Regions from separate parts of the Homo sapiens genome. Here all the other regions are linked to region 1. The links are contacts of gene promoters, found by promoter capture Hi-C in blood cells and fetal thymus (Javierre and others, 2016). All regions are on one chromosome and are shown on one strand. The core of a region is centred on a gene start or on the middle of the fragment in contact, and the rest is flanking DNA. Distances in the headings are between cores, read along the strand shown.

Region 1 (2,700 bases), core at 137-2,636:
GGTGCCTGCTTTTCAATGGGGAATGTTTTTTACCCCGATCAAAGAATGACCTCAAAGGTCATTGTACTGTAGTAGAGAAATAATTACAAAATACAAACACTCCAAATAAAATAACAATCACTCAAGTTTCTTATTTGTAAGTGATCAGAGTTAGTGATCCAGGATAATTTGCAGGCATCAGCTGGCCACAAATCGTGGACCTCCATTTTGAAATGAGCATGATTCCATCATTAATTACGAAAAACACCTTTCCACAAAGATGACATGTTTTGTTCAGAAACTCTTTTATGGCCCACGTTGTTACATTGGAATTTTAAGGGAATAATAAGTTAGGATTTACCACTGGGTGCTTTGGGAACCATACCCTTGCCTTGCGCAGGCAGTCTCATGCGCAATGCGGCAGACTGTCCAAAGGTTTCATTTCACAATGTTCATGAGGGAATAGGCAATAGGATTTGCGAACTGCATCCGCAAGTGCCATTCAAAATCAGTGGGAGAAAATAGCTTTTTTTCTTCTGCAAAGGATTTTCTTTTATGCATATTGTTTCAGTTCAGCAGTTTTGAAGTTGAGGGAAGAATGTTGCAATGTAATATTTATTAGCAGGTGGGAAAAAAAACACAACCCATCAATACATTTAGAGAGCAAAAAGATCTACTCTTTTCCTACTCTGGCAAATAAGAAACACACGATGTTTCAACACAGAGATGTCTTGTATTTCTCAAAGATCTATTGGGTTTTTACCAAGACCTGCACCATATATTCTGATACCATTACCTCCCAAAACATGGATTCATTTTGTGATATAAAAGAATCCAAATTCACCTGACGGATTATCATATGCGGGAAGAGCCTATCTTGAGTTGCTTAAAAATTTCTCTAAGAACTAGAGAAACATTTAAAAATATTTAAAATTCCATCTCATACAACACAAGGCCCAATAAACCATCAACCCTAGAAATTAACCAGCATCAGTCACTAAAGCCTAGATTCAAACACCAAGCACATCCTAGAAACAGAGAATTCACCCCACCCCCACCCAAGCCCCAACCCTCAAAAAACACCTGTTAGCCTCCCAGGAACCTCTGGCCACGGCCACAGGTAAACCACAAAAACCACAGCTCTATATAAAATGCCTTTAGTGACCCCCAGCAAAGTGGAGATGTTCAGTAGTAACCCGTCTATACACTTTCCTAGGGTAGGATTGAGGGGCTCTCCATCTAGGCAGTGGGATCCTGTCTGTGGCTACCCGTATCTCAGAATTTTTGAAATAATACTGCCCCCTTAGACTTCTGAACCCAGCCGGACTCCACCCCAGGCCCCAGGGGACGCCCTAGGAACGAAGTGATTGGGGGAAGGGGCTTAGACAGCGACCCCCCACTTCCCCGGGAAATGTAGGGGAGCAGCCGGACTGAGCTGCCCAAGGGGGTCGGCGCCCCAGGCTTCTTGGTGGCATGCTGGGGAGCGGGGAGGGGGCGATTCTTACCCGAAGGCTGCCGAGCTACAGGCGGCGGTCGGTCCGGGCGTCTGCTGTAATCCACTAGGCGCTGCCCGGCTGCGCTCACTCTCGGACGCAGAGACCCGCTCATGTTGGTGAAGAAGCCGCGCCAGAACCGCGCGGCTGCAGTCACCTCGAGCAGGCCGGCTGCTCCTGGCAGGCGGTGTCGGCGCCGGCGGGGGACTCGGCGCCCAGGGCCCCTTCCAGGCCCTCCCTCGCCGGGCTCCCCACCAGCTCCGGAGGTGGCGGCGATGCGGACCGAGTGAGCGGCGGTGGGGCCAGGCCGGGCGCCGGGCGGGAGCCGAGGCCGCGGCGGACTCCGCAATCCCGCAGCCGGTGACTGGAGCCCACCTCTGCAGAGACAAAGGTTAGAAAAAGAGGGGGTGAGGCTCTGGGAAAGCAGAATGCGGGGGGAAATTCGCCGGGGAAATCAGGAAAAAGGCCGTGAAGGCGAGCGGCGCCTGCACATGACCAGCCGCAGCCAATGACGACCGCAAATAGGTCATAAAAAGGTCTATTACCAAGTTGTAAATTTTCTTCAAACAAAAAGGAATTTACTGCAATTCCTTGCGGATTTTGCACATACAGCTCGCAAGCGCCATGTTTTTTCCTCTTCTGCTTTCTCTCTCCCCCGCCTCCTCTCTTCCTTCTCCTCCTCCTCTCTCTCTCCATTCTCTCTCTCCTTCCTCCCTTCTCTTTCTCTGTCCCTCTTCACCTTTCCCTTTTTCTTCCCTTCGTGGTTCTTCCCTCCCTCCCCGCCTCCTCTGTTTCTTTTTCTAGGATTTATTTGTGTGTGTGCGTGTGTGTGTGTGTGTGTGTGTGTGTGTGTGTGTGTGTTCTTTTCTTTGGTTTGGCTCAAAACCTCTGCGCAGTTGGCCATCGTGAAGGAGGGAAATGAACTCAATGTACTGCTCACGCTCTGGGGAAGCGATCCCCACAGCTACCTCCTCCCATCTCTCACCCTGTGCTAGTCACTTGGCTTCTCCTCCTCTCCCCTCAGGAAAAGGCCTGTCCCCAGAGGCAGCCAACCACTTTCGGTTTCCCCTCCTCCCTCTCATCTTGCAAGCCAGCCCCAGTTACCTTGGGAAGAAAACGAGGGATCTGCAGGCCAAGAAAATGTGCCCCCAACACACCACTCCAACATAAATTGGGGTCCCTCCCATTCCCGGGAGGTTCTGCAGTAGGATAATCACCAACCAGCTTA
Region 2 (2,700 bases), core at 28-2,527, 390 kb before region 1:
TTTCTTTCTTTATAGAGGCCTAAACAACCAAGGGGGGAACTTGATCTGTTGGTTTAGAACTCCAGAGATCTGCCAGACTGCTTACTCTTGTGTTGAAAAAGATACTGGCTAGTTGTTAGGCCATAATATTGAAGTCCTCATACTTTAAAGCAATGTAATTCTAAGCTTCCATGTCTTGTAAATAGCTGTTGACTGACTTGTCTCATAAGTAGGATGGAAAGGAACAGATAGTGGTTCAATGAAAAGAATTCATTTTTTCCTTCCAGTTTTTTTAGGCAAATACATCCTTGTTCTCTAGTTTCATTTCTTCACCATTCCTCTGCACCTTCCTAATATTTAGTATAATCTAATGAAGTCAAACAAGCTATAGGATGTAAGATTTTCAAAATGTCAGCAGCAAAGTACTTATTGCGGTTTTCTTTTCTTATGGCACCAGGAAATAATCAATCTATTTTTATAAGTCTTCCAACCCAACTTTGTCTACTTAAGAAAAATCAGTCTCACTCCAAATGAGATTTATTGAAATGTTCCTAAAATGCCTCCTATTTACCTATCACAAGTGAAACATTATTCAAAATGTGGAAGTGGTTTGTGGAGATGGGTCTTTTCAATTTAAGCCTGTAAGTACAGTTCATAATAAAAACCTGTCAATGAAGTAGATATTTTATCACACCTGTGTTCATTTGGGACTGCTAATTTATCATTAATAAAGCATTTGGCTAGAAAACGATGTCCATATTTGATGATCTGGAAACTTCTTTCTCCCATTTTTATGCCACGATAACTGCCCAGTCTTATTGTTGCCCATTATAAATGTGTAAAGTTTTATGGACTAAGTAATGTCAAATGAGGCAGTGTCAAGCAGATCTGGAGACAAGTTGGGAGCGTTTAGATGGAAAAAGAAGCTGTGCGGTCTATGCCAGTCTTGCTTGTAGTTTTATTGTGTATTGATCCTTTTTTACACACTGATTTAGCATCCTGAATTATGATGTGGTATTTAAATTTAAATACCAATTGAGAGCTCCTATCTCAAAGGTTGCTGTAAGTCATAGCCATTTTTGACTGTGATGGGCTCTGCTTCTCTGGAGTGGGTATGTTATTAGAAATGCTTGTAAAAGACTTCATGGCAGTTAACTATGCAGTGGAGAAGATGTGTGGAGCTTCATAAGCTTCTAGGAAGCAATGAGTAGATTGGTATAAAAAAAACATTCACAAAATCACAGTCTTGAAAGGATCCTTTGGAGGTCATTTGGTCCAGTCTGCTGTCTCTGGTCCAGTGCTGCATTTAGAACATTCCCTGGAATCTTCAGAAAAGAGGTTCCATAGACTTCCTTCCTTGGTAACAAAATTTACCATTCAACAAGCCTATCACTCGGGTAAGCTTTCCCCAGCACCTCCACAAGCCCCTGCAGCTCACATTCACTCCCATTTCTCCCAGATGAAGAGGCATTGAAATCCCAAGTGGTCTACCACAGGAAGAAGTAGAGTACAATGTAATGGTTAAGCTTTTTGAAAATTAGGAGTCCATAAATTTGTAATTAGATATAACACATTCAACTCCATGTGTTATTTACATAGCTTCTATTTGTTGCATGTGCACCAGGGCTATTTTTGTGAGTAGAATATGCCTGAATACTGTGCTAGAACTTCTTTTTTAGAATCAGGCAAATAGGATTGGGTTCTAGAGTTTCTTTTAAAGAGGTGTCAGTTGCCAGTATTGCAAAATGGATACTATATCCCTATGACATTTAATGTTCAAATATAGGAAAAAAGGAAAGAGAAAGAGAAAGAAAGGAGGGAGATAGGGAAGGAGAGAGGAAAAGGAGGAAGAAATCTGTTTAATGATTTTAAGTCCATGTGGAACTCACTCCCAGGATTCTTGAGTCTGCTATGAGGCCATGCCATGTCTCATTGCCCAGCACTGGGGCAACGCAGGGAGAGGGAAGGGACAGACAAACAGCCAGTGGAACATGGATTGTTTTGTGTTCTCTGCAGACGAGAGGGAACGCTGCATTGTTAGGGTGATCCTCCATCACTGGGTCTAGATTCCAGGAGGGTATGGGAGGAGGACGGAGGGGGTAGTGGAAGAATGGAATGTGATTTCATTCATGGCAATCTAAGATGATACCTTTCCAGCTCATCTTTCCTTCCAATGTCTTATGACAAATCTATTAATTCTCCCCTTACAGCAGTGAAAGAGCAAGAGACCCAAAGTAAGACCAGAACATGGTTAAGGTGTGAGTTTTATCTTTTTCATTATAAAAATATATAGGTTGCAGAAATGAAATAATTACATGTGGAATCTCCACTAATCAATACTATTTATAAAAATGCAATAATTCATCAGGCTTTATAAAGAGTTAAACTTTGAACCTCTAACAAGTTAAATATAACTTTTTCTTGCAGTCAAAATGACTAGTTCACCGCACCCTGTGTTTTACACAATTATCATGTTTAACTTTCATCCAGTGGGTTACACAGTTGTTCTCAAAGTGTGGTCCCTGGACCAGTGACATAACCTGTGAACTTGTTAGAAATGCAGATTTCTAGACCCCATCCCAGACCTACTGAATCAGAAACTCTGGGGCTGGGAACAGCAATCATGTTTTCACAAGCCCTCTAGATTATTTGGATGCACACTATAGTTGAGAATTACTGCGTTAAGGAGTATTCCTATTTTAGAGATAAGAAAAAGGATGT
Region 3 (2,700 bases), core at 137-2,636, 340 kb before region 1:
TAAATAAAATCAGAACCATGTGGGATATATTTCCCTTTATATACATATTGAGGCTATAAAAAATAAAGGGAAAGTATTCAGCTAAAGTTATTTAGGGTTTGGGTTTACGCACAACATCTGAAAAATAGTTCAAGATGTTAGTTGAACCCAAAGTGCAGCAATGTTCACCTTCTCCTACTGAAAATAGAGTCTGTGTAGCAGCTGAGGGAAGACATGTTTAATGTCAAGTTAATGAAAGGAGAAAAAAAGTATGTTGGAGCTGAAAGGACAAGGGAGTGTTCAAATATGCACAGAGAAAAATATGTTTAAAGCTAGACGAACCTTGGCTAGAGAAAAGGAGCAAAGGAACCTGAAGTTGGCCCTGGTTTCTGAGACATGTACATCCCTGGGGCATCGAGTTCCCTAAGCAAACCCCACTTTTTCTTAAGACTGTCTGGTCACCAGGTTTTTCCCTCAAAAATTTAAGCCTATTGCATCTTGGTTATAATAAGGGGTTCTTACAGCCTCCAAAGATAGGTTTGAAATGTGACTGACTTTTAGCTGGATGTTTTAAAAGAACTGACGGGTTTTATGTCTAGGTAGTTGAACTCCTGGATGCCCAGACACTCGTGATAAGTTAGGATGACACCCAGATGCCCCGCAAGAGTGAGAGCCTGAAGACCAACTGCCTGAGGCAACAGAACAAACTCTTAATCTACAGGTCTACTGTTGTTCCTGCTGGGACCCAACGGATGATAGCACTGTCCCTCCATGCACTAGGCGTGCACACATACACACACACACACACAACAGTTTTCTGCAGAACCATAGGCTGTACCTTTGCCATCATTTCTGCAGTACCTACTCTGTCAGGGTTGATGGGAACCATGGGTGGCCTTGAACTCTTTTTGAGCTGAAAATAATCCCTTTTCTTTCTTCATTGGACCTCAAGAGACAAGAGACAGCAATAAAGTTGACTTGTGGCCCTTTAATACTTATGGAATCTGGGATGCTCTTTAAAGAGGAAAAACCCTGCTTCTTGATCCACTTGTAGAAAACTAGAAAGCAAGTCTCAAATCAGACTAAACCAATCAGTAAGACTTTGAGATGGAAGAACAAGATCACATTACCATATCCCATAGGATGTCCTTGGATCAGGGGATGTGAACTTGGCAAAGTCTCTGAATGTCTTTTTGTTTCAATTTTCACCTGTGAAATGTAGGATAACAATATCTCCTCTGCTGAGCTCATAAAGAGATTGTTATGTGACTGAGATTAAATTAATATAAGTGCTTTGAAAGACATAAAACGTCCTAAAACAGAAGTCTCCAGCACTCTCTCTATACTTCGCCTCTGAGCTCCAGGTGGTCTCCCTGGCATTTCCACCTGAATATTTTACTGATATCTCACACTTAACATGTCCAACATGGACTTCTTGATTGTCTCCTACCAACTTCCACCTATTTGAATTTCCCGCATTTTTATGAATGGCTTTACCCAACCAGATGTTTAAGCCAGGAACCTGGGAGCTTTCCTTGAGACCTCTCTCTCTCTTGCGCTCATACTGCCAATTAATCACCATGTCCTGTTGATTCAACTCTACTTTTTCTGGAATCTGGGCACTTCTCTAGATCAAGCTGTATCATCCCTCATCTGAACCACCACAAGAGCCAGCTATGAGTCTCCATGCTTCCCCTCTTGCCTCAGTAGCCATCCACCCCCACGCACCCCCAACCTTCCTCTGCACAGCCATTAAAAAGTTCACTCTCCTCACTGCAGCAAGAACAGTCTTTTCAACTTGGTCTTGTCACTTCCCTACTCAACATGCCCCAGAAGGTCTCCTTCAAGAATATAGACATTCAGTCCTGGCGCAATGGCTCGCACCTGTAATCCCAACACTTCAGGAGGCCGAGGTGGGTGGACCGCTTGAGCTCTGAGTTCAAGACCAGCCTAGGCAATGTGGCAAAACCTTGTCTCTACAAAAAAAAAAAAAAAAAAAATACAAAAATTAGCTGGGTGTGGTGGTATGCGCCTGTAGTCCTAGCTACTTGGAGGCTGAGGTAGGAGGATCCCCTGGACCTGGAAGACCGAGGCTACATTGAGCCACGATCACGCCACTGCACCCCAGCCTGGGTGACAGAGTAAGACCGTGTCTCAGAACAAAACAAAACAAAAAAAAAAAACAAAAAAAAAAACACAACAACAACACAGAACATTCAGAGAAGGCTCCACTATGTTAGAACTTTGAACATGTGACTTAGCCACTGGTCTTGTGGGACACACATACAGAGTTAATGTATCCCCAAACCCTCCCCTTTCCACATTAGCTCTGACAGAAGACTGCCAATTGGGTCTTTCTCAGCCAGTAGTCTTCACTGGACACCCTAAGAAGTGGGGGCCTCATTAAGAGGATGCATGTGTGCGTGTGACTGCTTCTTTGTGCAATCTTAGTGTCTGCCATCTGTTAACCAGCTGTAATTTCAAGAGGGGGACATGGGAGGGAATCAAGTATAATGCAATAAGTAATAAGGTGAGTTTTTTTTATTTGTATTTCTTATTGATACTAAGTAGTTTTAATGATCCAAAAACATCTCTCTCAATTTTGAGTATTTTCTTAATGCCTTAAAAAATTGAAATACGAGCAACTCTGTAACATCTAAATGCATATTCTTGGCTCAGTGGATTATCTAAGACAAATTTTTAATTCAAAACTGACTTCTT
Region 4 (2,700 bases), core at 94-2,593, 430 kb before region 1:
AGGAGAAAAGCTTAGAAAGCCAACACATTAATTAGTAAGTTTGAAACATAGATAATAAATATTATTAAATAAATTGTTTATATGTTCAAACATCTATCTATATATGTATATACTGTATGTAATATATTTTACCATTTTATGCTAACAAAGAATTTTTCTAGCAAAATATTACCAGCGTATCTTAGGTACATATAATTTTAGTGGATTTCATCCCCCTTGAGAATATGTTCTAGATCCCAGAGAATTTAATACAGTTTCATCTAATTTATGTTTTTAAAAATATACTCATGTTTGGAAGGTATAAAGAACAATAATTACTCCAGCAATATTGCTGAACTGAGAATAGAAAGAAATGAAAACTAATATAAAAGTCATAATGGCAAAATGTGTTGAAGTTCAGCAGCCAAGAGGGAAACACAATTGTAAGCTCAGTTGGTCAGGTCACAATGAAACTGATAAAAAAATACAAAGATTAATTACAAAATTATTGGGAAACGTCAAGTAATGTATGAATCATTGACATAGGATCAGTCAGATTCCTCTGGTATTTTGCAGCAGAAAAATGAGAAGAATGGAACTAAAGTCTTCAAATACATTTAATTGCATTCCTTTTTGGATATGTAATATCAATACAAAAAGTTTCGATCAATACTGTAAGTCAAATGAAACATATGCCATGGTCAAATGAAGCATTTGGTTGTAGTATATGAAACTGCCATTTTGTAGGTCAAAATTGGTTGAACTTTAGCAATTTCATAAGGTTCATTTATTGTAATATATGTTATAGTGTAGGCAATTTAGGATAGTTTTTGAAATCAAATGGACATGTATGTATCCCATTTCAGTTCTACTACTTTACTAGCTGTGAATTCTTAGACAATTGGATGCATTAATTTCTCTGAGCTTTACTGTCCCTACCATACAATAGGCATAATAGTATCTATCTTGGAGTGTTGTGTGGATTAAATTAGTGCCTCACACAGGGCTTTTCCCCCACATAACAAAAAGGTAGTTCCCAAAACATTTATTTTAAAGTCAATAGTTAAGAACTCAGAAAGGAGGGAGCTGAGGTTCTACTAAACCTTCTGAGATGCCCCACAATTTTCAGTGTTCTGAAGTTTTGGTTACCTTACAGAAAAACCACACTGAACAGAAGCCAGCTGTCCTTAGAGGTGAGGACATCCCACCTGAATATCTGCTTGAGATCAATGTCAGCTTTATTTTTGAAAGATAACCTGAATTTTGTTTCCACATCCCATTCTGCCAGGGACAGCAGTAGGATTTAAAATAACCAGAAAGACACACAGAATAATTCTTTGAAATTCAATAGCTATTAAATTAGGGAAGGAGGTTTAAGAGTGGGGCGGGGAGCAGGAGCTCATGTAAAGCCCCTCACACTTTGTAAGCAATCTGATAACTTCTGAATGCCTGATTGTATTATTGCCACTGGCCTTACATATGTGGGTTAATTTCCTTCAGGGTATACTTTCTCATACCCCATCCAGCCAGAGAAGTCGGTGCTTAGTAAACTCTGTAGGGTACTGGTGGGTGATATCTTCTCAGTGGAGAACCGGTTTCAAACACCTATTCTGTTTTTCTCAAACAAATCTGCAGAGGAGTACATCCACTGTCTATAAGATTTCTGTATGAAAAATATAGTGCCCTGAAAGTTAATCCAACAATGTGCCTGGGGCTGTGATAGGTGATCTCCAGGCAAAATTTCATTCTCACAAGTCTATGTGTTATCATTGCCATTTAGAGATGAGGAAACAACCTTACGTACATCACACTACTAAGGTAGTAGGGGATCCTTGAATCTGAGATCTCAGCCAATATACCCTGGTGCCTCTAAAAATCAAGACAGGTATCTGTTATAGAGGTTTTATTTTTTTCTTTTGAGTAGAATTTCAACATCAAATAATCAATAAAGATAGACTATATTTTCCTATTTCATTTCCACCATCCTTTAAAATGGGTCAAAATCATCCTGCCTTCCACTAACGACTAAAAGGGTGATCATTTTCTTATGTGATTCCCACTGTTTTACCTTTAAAGGAGACTCGCTCAATGAACTGAATTGTTTTCAACCTTAGCTTTTCTCCTCCCAGTTTTCATCATTGGGTATCATTCCACTTCAGCAACAGTTCCCCCATACCATAGGTTTTCCTGGTGTTAAAAAATATCAGACATTGCCCACTTGCACCTTTAGGAACTTTGCAAGCCAAGGCTCCCCAGCACAGATCAATATTCCACATTAGAGAAATGCAGGAACAAGCCAATAGAATTAGCAGACTAATTTACTGTGCCTCGGCCGCAGCTGGCAGGGACCGCAGAGGGAAGCAAGCAGATGTTTGTTTGCTAATGGTGGCTTCCTTGAGTTGTCAGAGCCCAGTGCCCCAGACCTTCATTAGCCAGTCTGTCCAGCTTAATAAAAAAGGATAAGGGGGTTTTGACTGTGCTCATTTGGTAATGTCAATTGATTTGTTTTCTACCACTCATATAATGTTCCAGGCTTTCCATAGTTACAATGTGGAATGATTGTACAACATTTTTAATTTGTTGTATTGGAAAGGGGAAAATCTTTAATGCAGATGAATCAGAAATTGTTATTGGGGTCATAGTTTCCAATATATGTGTTCAAGAAATTGTGGCCAATTATCTCTCACACCAAGCTTGGAAGACAGAAAATAAAATGGCAGC
Region 5 (2,700 bases), core at 52-2,551, 280 kb before region 1:
CTGAGCTAGGGTTGCAAACAAGTACATGAATGTGGAAGTGATGAGTATCTTGACACTTAGTATTCCCTTTGAATTTGAAATTTCCCCTGCCTTCTGTTTCTATTTGGAGTATGGATACTCCACATGTTTCACTCATTTATCTTTGTTCCCCATCAGGCTCATACCTTCTTTACTCTACCTCCTAGTTTTACTAAAAAGCTTTCCAAAGATGAAGTTCTAAGATAAAGAATAAAATTCTGGAATTATCTAAGCTCCAGTAACACTGAAGACATGAAAATCCACAGAATCATAGCTCTCAGTGGGTTGATAAATAGCACTTTTATCCTCACCTTGGGTTTCTGGTGTGTTATGGTAATGTAACATGCCACCTTTCTATATTTACTGTCTCTGCCTCCTTTTATTTATAGAGAAAGACAAAACCAGACATCTATATTTTTTGTTTTGTGTGGTTTTGGGGGGCAGATGAATCTATAGGCATATAAATGTGTTATTTTCTAGATAATGTAGTAAGTGCAGTCTAATAAAGTTTTTCTAAAGGCAGTGTGACTACCTCCATAAAGTAAATTTAAAGATAAAAGCACTTTGGAAGTTTGTTTTTAGTTGTTGAAAAAAATAATGGGTGCAACAAATAAAATGTTAGAACAAATTTATATAAAATAAAAACCACACCTGTGTTTCTCCCACTCACATGGCCACTTTCACCGTTTTCTGTGCAGTCTTTGTCACATGCACACGTTTTACAGAGCAATCTTTATTTAAATGCCAGTATGGGTTTTGCTTTTTAAACTTTATAAACACATCCTCAGGTTTCTACACAACAAATAAATTTTTGTTCATTCACTATGAGCCTATTTAATTTAATTACTATTGGTGGCTTAGGTCATAATTACTTCTATTTTTATAGCCCTGTCTTCTGAAGGATTCAAATTGTTTTTAAAATAGCATGTTGGAAACCACATCAGAAGCCTTTCTAGTGCAATAGAAAGGCTATAGATGGGGGAACTGAGGTTCTAAAGAGGCTATGGGACTAGCCAGGATTATTCTTGGCAGATCAAAGACTGTAACTCAATGTTCTAAAACCCCAAACTGTTGCTCTTTCTGCCTAGCCACAGCTGCCTCTGCCAGCCCCTAGACTCTTTGGTCTGGGATGGATGTCAGAGCAGGCATGGGGATCATAGAAAGACAGCATTCCGCTTGTCTGTTTCTCCAACTACAGGGAACCCAGCAGCTGCTATTGTCTCTGCGCAGAGCTGGCTTGAATAGCATAATCCTAACCTGACTACCAAAGATGTGATTACTTTCCTGTCTTTTAAAAACTGTTCGTTATTTCATGGGAAGCTGAGCCCTGGCTCCTGGGTTCCAACACAGTCATAGTCCTAAAAAATGTGTGACAGAATTGGAGATTCTGTGAACATGGTATATACATTTACACAAATCCTACTGCAACTGAGCCGCATCCAAGGACTGCACCATGACACTCTTGGAGGTAATTCCTGGGACACCTCTTGGCACTTTGGGGTGAGACAGGGGCCTGGAGGAAATTCAGAACTGTGTGACTTTTTCAGAGACAAGAAGTCAAACTGGGAAGCCAAGTCCTCTATTCACCGGCTCGATTACCGGCCAGCTGGATCCATGCATGAAAGATTTTCTCTGGGCTGACAGAATTAATGCCATTCACACAGTCACAGGATGTGCTTTATTTCAGCACACGTCCTGAGCTTGCAGAGCCCAGGAGATGCTTTAAGAAGGTAGAGAGTTGAGGGTTCAGCAAGCCTGGGTCTCCTGGTGAGTTCAAATTTCCATGAGTGCCAATTGAAATCGTGGTCCTCTTAGCTGGGTTTTCAGCTCCCCAGCTGTCTACTAGGGAACCAAGAGCACCACCCCACTTCACAACAGACCCAGGCAGTCATCATGCATAACCATGTTTAGTGATAGCTAAGCACAGCTGCATTTGAACTGATGACCTGGTAATCTGCACTAGAAACGTCCATATCCCTTTACAAATCCCTGGAGCCTCGCCATGCATTTGACTTGTTGTTCTTAAAGTTTCACATCATTTTCCACCTGTTAAACCACCACTTCAAGAGAATTATTGAGTCTGAGGAAGAAAGGATCCCACTTTTGCCCTCTCCTTTGTACTTGGAAGCTCATCCACCCCATGGCTAATAGGACTGGTGGTTCAAGGATTCAATACTGGTTTACTCATTTGGGGCATCTGCTTGTGACTGGCTATAAAGAAATCAACACTTAAAGAAATGCATTAGAGACCACCTACACCCCGATGCAGACATTTCTTTGTGAAAAAATAGTGACACATAGCATCCTACAAGATTTCAGATACATACAGATGGCTTTTTCTGGACAATCAAGCACTTGTCAGGAATGTTAGACGAAGAAAGCTTTATGTTCACAACATTATTATGGCTGCCAGCAGCAATTGTTTAATAGGAAACTAGCAGCAAAAACAGGAAAGTCATGTTACTTTTGCATCATGAGTAATACCTCAGTTCATGTTCCCAGAAGTCGGTAACTACAGTAATATGCTTAAAGATATTCATGTGATTTGCTTCTCAGGCCTCCATCCCACCAAAATATGATCATAAACATCTAGTGAATCATGTGTATGTTTGTGAAATATATGTTATCTGTGAAAGAAAAAAAATTATTTAAAATCTGACACAATTAGAACTTTCTGGGACG
Region 6 (2,700 bases), core at 50-2,549, 300 kb before region 1:
TTCCCATGTGCACACATCCATTAAAACTGGAGTGGTACAATTTAAATGAGTGCAACTTGTTATATATCAGTTATACTTCAATAAAGGGTGATTTTAAAAAATATTTGGAGGCCACTCTTATAAAAGAAAAGGGTCTTGAACCCTTGTGTTCCTCAGCTGTGTTTTGCTGTCATTAGAAAGAATGCCCAAATCTCAGTGACTTACAACAATAAAGGTTTATTTCTCCCTCATGTTGTGTTACCCAGCTCTGACCCATATAACTCATTTGTTTCTGCATCTAGTCCACAGGCCCTGCACACATACACAGAGGTTTTTACTGGCCCTAATCTTTTTTTTTTTGGTGCGACAGAGTCTCACTCTGTCACCCAGGCTGGAGTGGATGGCATGATCTCCGCTCACTGCAACCTCTGACTCCAGGGCTCAAGTGATTCTCCTACTTCAGCCTCCCGAGTAGCTGAGATTACAGGTGCCCACCACCACACCTGGCTAATCTTTGTGTTTTCAGTAGAGACAGGGATTCACCATGTTGGCTAGGCTGGTCTTGAACTCCTGACCTCAAGTGATCTGCCTGCCTCAGCCTCCCAAAGTGCTGGGATTACAGGCGTTAAGCCACCACACCCAGGCTTACTGGCCTTAATTTTAAAATGAGCAAATAGCCAAGGGTCACCAGGCATGACAGCCCATAATATGAAAAAAGGAGGCTGAAACAAACAAGCAGAATAAAAAGAAAGTTGAAGAAAATAAAGATTTTTGCAAGAAGGAAAAAATCTTTAAAAAACACATATAACATTTTTAAATAAGCCTTTCATTTCTAAGTAAATTTAAAATGTGATAACAGAAATGGAAAAAACAATAAAACATTTGAAAATCAGAAATTAGAGCAGAAATAAAATATGAAGTAAAATAAGACAGATGTAAGAAAATCAGAGGACCAGGCTAAGAAGTCTAAAATCCAAATAATAGGAATTACAAAGAGAAACAAAAAGGAAACTGAGAAGAAAAAAATCAAAATAATAATTCAACAACAATTTGAACAAGTGAAGTACATAAATTTTCAGAATGAAAAGTCCTACTAGTTACCCAGAAGAGAACAGATTCATATCAAGGTATATTGTCATGAAATTTCAGAACACTGAGGACAAAGAAAAGATCCTAGACTATTCCAGAGAAATGAAAGCAAAATGGTTGAGAAGCTTCAAGAAGAACAGCATCTGAATTCTTGAGAGCAACACCAAATTCTAGAAGGCAATGAAGTAATCCCTTTAAAATTCTGAAGGAAAAGTATTTCCAACTTTATGTATCCAGCCAAACTCTCATTTAAGTATGAGAGTAGAATAAAGATATTTTTTTCAGATCAACAAGGTCTCAAATCTTACTTCTCATAAATCCTTTCTCAAGAAGCTTCTGGAGGGTATGTTCTACCAAAAAAAAGGGCGGGGGGAGAGGAGGGAATAAACCAGGAAACGGGACCTCAAAAACAAGGGAACCGATACAAAAAAGAGTTGAGGGATAGCAAGGGAAGATAATAGCTATTTGGCAGGCCTAGAAAACAGTCCCATTTAGAGCATATCAGAAGGCGTGTATTCTTCAAGAAGATGTAATTTATGCTTAATGTGTTTAAACATTTTAAAAGGATATTTGTACAATTTGGATAAAGTTAGGATTGAATTCAGTGATAACTACATAGATACTTAACAATAATTTATTAAAAACAAGCATAACTATAAACTCCAGGGAAAACAAAATACTGGACAGGATGGGAAATTTTATTATATTACACTACAGCACATGAGCAAGCATTAGTCATAATTGCTTGCTCAATACATAAACAAGGATTTACATGGTCATAATTATTTAAACACAACACAATGTTGACATAAATAAAATTACTGTATAACTATATCGAGTGGGTGAAGACATAAGATGGGTGTGTGTATTATGGGAAGAAGGTGAAACAGACTTAGAACTTCACCTTCTAAGGGAGATGTCAACGTGCTAGATAATGTCTGATACTGAAAAATGAATGTAGTATCCATAAAAGTATGAAATAAGATGGTAAATTCCAAGAGGAAGGAAGCACTATGCTTGTCCTCAAGCAGAGCAGACTCAAGACAGAAAAGGATGTGCAAAAATTATTTACCATAAATATGGGACCCAGCAGAGAGAGAAACTACTTCTGCCTAAGGATGACAGGAAAAACTTCACAGAGAAAGTGTTGCAGATAATGGGAAAAACTCCCTTCTCCATTCTGTCCTGCTTTTCATGGTAGAATACACTCTCTGCACTCCATCTCAACATGGGTTTTAACTGAGCACATAGTCACTAGAGATCCTCCTTCCCAGCCCCCACTCCTGCTAATGAAGACCATGTTACTAAATTCCAAAGGGAGCAAATGAGATGTTAGCAACTGCTGGATTATATTCTTAAAAGGGAGGCTTTTGTTCTCTATTGCCTCTTTAGCCCTTCCTTAAAGAAGGGCTAAAAGAATATAATAAGAGCACAATAATCAATCTATCTTTTGACATACTAACCCACTTTGAGTAGCATATGCCCAGGAAAATATTTCAAAGAAAACAAAGCTACTTGTACAGAGATGTTTCTAGCAATCCCACTTATACAAGTTTTTTTTTTAAAAAAAAAAAAGAAGAAGAAGAAGAAGCCCCAAATTGGGAAATGAATAAGTAAATTTTGGTGTACTGC
Region 7 (2,700 bases), core at 99-2,598, 450 kb before region 1:
ACTCTTCAGACAATGCAAAGCTTAGAGAGTTCTGAAGCCTTTTATAGAAATAAATTCACATTTGACATATAGTGAAATTTGGGCCCTAATTCTTTTGTGTTCAAATGGGTGTCCTAAAGACACACATTATTCCTGCCTTTTCATGTTCTATTTTCCTGGATACAGCATTTGATTTTCTTAATCACTTGACGTATGACATAGGTGAATTGAAAAATAGCCCAAGGCTATTCGTAACAGTAATAGCTTCATCCAACTTTAATTCTTAATACTGTGTGCTAAATCGGAAGTTAGCTTTTATTAAAACAAGTTTATCTACGTGGGCATAGGGGACATAGGGTAGTGCTGAGAGGCTGGATGCCTACTGAGCCTGTAGAACTTGAAAATTTTAGAAAGAGACTTGGGAGGGCATTCCTTTACCCTCTTTTGTTTTTTAGAAAAGGAAACCAAGCCTTGGTGAGTGAGTGTGTGTGTGTGTGTGTGTGTGTGTGTGTGTAGTACTGATCAATTAGAGGGTAGGCCTTATCCAATCATAGTGGATTGTGGGTCTTGGAGAGGGAATCCAGGAAGTCTTCTGCAGGTATCAGTTCAATCCTTTGGCTACTGAATTGTGGAATGTGGAGGACATCCTGGAAAACAAACAGTTAGTAAACAGTCAGGTAATAGATAACATAAAGTTTCCTCCTAGTCCTGGGAGAAAGATGGTGTGTTCATTGAAAGCTCATCTGCCTGAGTTAGGATGCTGACTCCACCACTTACAAGACGAATGACTTTGGACAAGTTATTTAACTTCTCTAGGCCTTGCCTCAGTTTATTCATTTGTATAATGGAGCTGGTAATAGTAACCTCACAGGATCACACAGCAAAGCATATGGATGCTGTGCTAAGTGTTTTAAGGTTAACTCTTCAAGTATCCTCAACAACTCTCTCAGGTGAACGTTTTTTATTATCTGAATTTTATAGATGAGGAAACAGAAGCTCTGGCAGTGTGATTAACTTGTCTATCTCACATCTGGTAAGAGGCAGAGTAGGGATTCAACCCAGAAGTCCCACATCAACCACAGCCTTGTGTCAACCAGAGTGTCTCACCCTAGAATCCGCATTCAATATTGATCCTAAAGGCCCTGCTTAGATGGCCTCCCACTGACAGCATTATTTACTGAAAATAAATAAGATGCTTATAAAAGGACTTAATGTGATGAATTCTGCCTACTGTTTTTTCCAGAGGTGTTGATTTGTCCAAGTTTACGCAACCAATTCATGAAAAAAAATCAGGTTAAAGGCCCATCTTCTGGTCTTTGGTCCAGTGTCCTATCCACCCTACACACTGCCTTGAATAGAGCTTTCAAAACAAATGGTAAGATCACTCTGAGAAGCATGGAAAAGTGGATAAAAATGTGAATGATCCAACCAGACAACCTGAGTTCGAATCCTGCCTTTACTGACTTGTCCTGTGATCTTACAAAAGTCTCATGATTTCTTTGTGCCTTAGCTTTATCATCTGGAAAATGGGGATGATAATAAGAATATGATCTATCTCCTCCAGATTATTGTGATGATTACATGAAAAATGCACATAAAGCACTTAGAATAATTCCTGGGACAGTCGTGTAACTCAAGCAATGTTAGTTATTATAACACTATTTTTTTCACTCACGCATATAGCCTCTATGTAATACAATTAATAACTAAATTTCAGAAATGTTGCCTTGTACTTTTCAGAAATATGATGGGTCAGAAGGACTGGTGTGGATATATGGTGGAATAAAGTACTAAATTAGAAGGATAAAAGAGTTATTTTAAGTTTCCTGAAAAGGACATGGTTAAGTCTTAGTTCTGTAATTAGATAATACTTCAAAGGATTTTAGTAACATTAGAGAGAAGGAGGTCTGAGAAAATATTCTAGCTGAAAAAGGAAAAATTTGGAGGGGAATTCATGAAAGCATACCGCATCCCGGTAACATTAAATTTTGCTAAGGGAAGGTTTGGGCTTGCAAGAATCATAATATTATTCGAATCAGAAAGGGAGATCAAACTCAGCTAAATGTAATTTGCATTAAACATTTTATTTAAAATGTCTATTTTTAAAGAAAATATAGGATTTAATGTGTATTGGCATGAATGGAGAATTAGAATTAGCCCAAAATACACATTAAATCCAAGTTTTTGGAGGAGAGAGCATAAAGATTTTTTAAAATCTATTTCTCCTTCCTTCGACCCCCATCAAAATTTTATTTAATTCTTCACAGAGCACAGCGAGTAGATTTCTGCTTCTTCGCCCTTTTAATGCGTTCAACTTGGTTTTAAGCACGCATCAGAAAGCAGCTCATGATGAAAGCCTTTTGTTGTCTGCAGACAGAAATGTCAGAAACTTAGCCCTGGTCAGTGCAAGGTATAAAAGAACTCCCCCTAATGCCATCTGTCCTTCAAGATCAAGTTCTGCACAGCTGCATACCCGAGATGGCCTGGGATCACCTGGGTAACCTCTGGGTGATGTTCATATTTGAGATGTGACCTAAGATGGGGAAGAAAGGGGAGAAATAGCAACATGATACTTAACAGATTCTGGCCCAAGCGATCACACATTTTGCTTCCTGCAACTCATAAATCCATTATCTTCAAACTGGGCTGCTCACATTGCAGGCATTCCTCTTTAACAGCTGCAAATGATAAGCTTTACTCTATATAGCTTTCTTTAAAGTA

Evidence for each region. The method cuts DNA at HindIII sites, captures the fragments that hold promoters and counts their contacts. A CHiCAGO score of 5 or more calls a contact.
Region 2: a contact is called between a fragment that was not itself captured here and the fragment with the promoter of HOXD-AS2 in region 1, in 1 of 17 cell types (endothelial precursors). The highest score is 7.2, in endothelial precursors.
Region 3: a contact is called between a fragment that was not itself captured here and the fragment with the promoter of HOXD-AS2 in region 1, in 1 of 17 cell types (megakaryocytes). The highest score is 7.2, in megakaryocytes.
Region 4: a fragment that was not itself captured here is called in contact with the fragment with the promoter of HOXD-AS2 in region 1 in 4 of 17 cell types (endothelial precursors, fetal thymus, megakaryocytes and 1 more); the score reaches 12.3 in endothelial precursors.
Region 5: a contact is called between a fragment that was not itself captured here and the fragment with the promoter of HOXD-AS2 in region 1, in 1 of 17 cell types (endothelial precursors). The highest score is 10.5, in endothelial precursors.
Region 6: a fragment that was not itself captured here is called in contact with the fragment with the promoter of HOXD-AS2 in region 1 in 1 of 17 cell types (megakaryocytes); the score reaches 6.8 in megakaryocytes.
Region 7: a fragment that was not itself captured here is called in contact with the fragment with the promoter of HOXD-AS2 in region 1 in 2 of 17 cell types (endothelial precursors and fetal thymus); the score reaches 7.3 in endothelial precursors.

The regions. Positions count from the first base shown.
Region 1 is chr2:176,135,784-176,138,483 of GRCh38, reverse strand. HOXD-AS2 (HOXD cluster antisense RNA 2) reads left to right here and starts at 1,386. Exons shown (of 3, transcript NR_038435.1): 1 at 1,386-1,863. LOC401021 (a long non-coding RNA gene) reads right to left here and starts at 1,872. Exons shown (of 2, transcript NR_148241.1): 1 at 1,485-1,872. The HindIII fragment of the contact is 4,739 bases long and covers 1-2,700 here.
Region 2 is chr2:176,528,565-176,531,264 of GRCh38, reverse strand. No RefSeq gene overlaps it. Among named protein-coding and RNA genes, the nearest start is that of NRAL, 22 kb to the right of the region's middle. The HindIII fragment of the contact is 212 bases long and covers 1,172-1,383 here.
Region 3 is chr2:176,479,823-176,482,522 of GRCh38, reverse strand. No RefSeq gene overlaps it. Among named protein-coding and RNA genes, the nearest start is that of NRAL, 27 kb to the left of the region's middle. The HindIII fragment of the contact is 2,872 bases long and covers 1-2,700 here.
Region 4 is chr2:176,569,389-176,572,088 of GRCh38, reverse strand. No RefSeq gene overlaps it. Among named protein-coding and RNA genes, the nearest start is that of MIR1246, 30 kb to the left of the region's middle. The HindIII fragment of the contact is 2,662 bases long and covers 13-2,674 here.
Region 5 is chr2:176,414,612-176,417,311 of GRCh38, reverse strand. No RefSeq gene overlaps it. Among named protein-coding and RNA genes, the nearest start is that of NRAL, 92 kb to the left of the region's middle. The HindIII fragment of the contact is 2,201 bases long and covers 201-2,401 here.
Region 6 is chr2:176,431,771-176,434,470 of GRCh38, reverse strand. No RefSeq gene overlaps it. Among named protein-coding and RNA genes, the nearest start is that of NRAL, 75 kb to the left of the region's middle. The HindIII fragment of the contact is 208 bases long and covers 1,196-1,403 here.
Region 7 is chr2:176,585,845-176,588,544 of GRCh38, reverse strand. It overlaps LOC124907910 (a long non-coding RNA gene), which reads right to left. Exons shown (of 2, transcript XR_007087314.1): 1 at 2,453-2,700; 2 at 1-626. Among named protein-coding and RNA genes, the nearest start is that of MIR1246, 14 kb to the left of the region's middle. The HindIII fragment of the contact is 2,651 bases long and covers 23-2,673 here.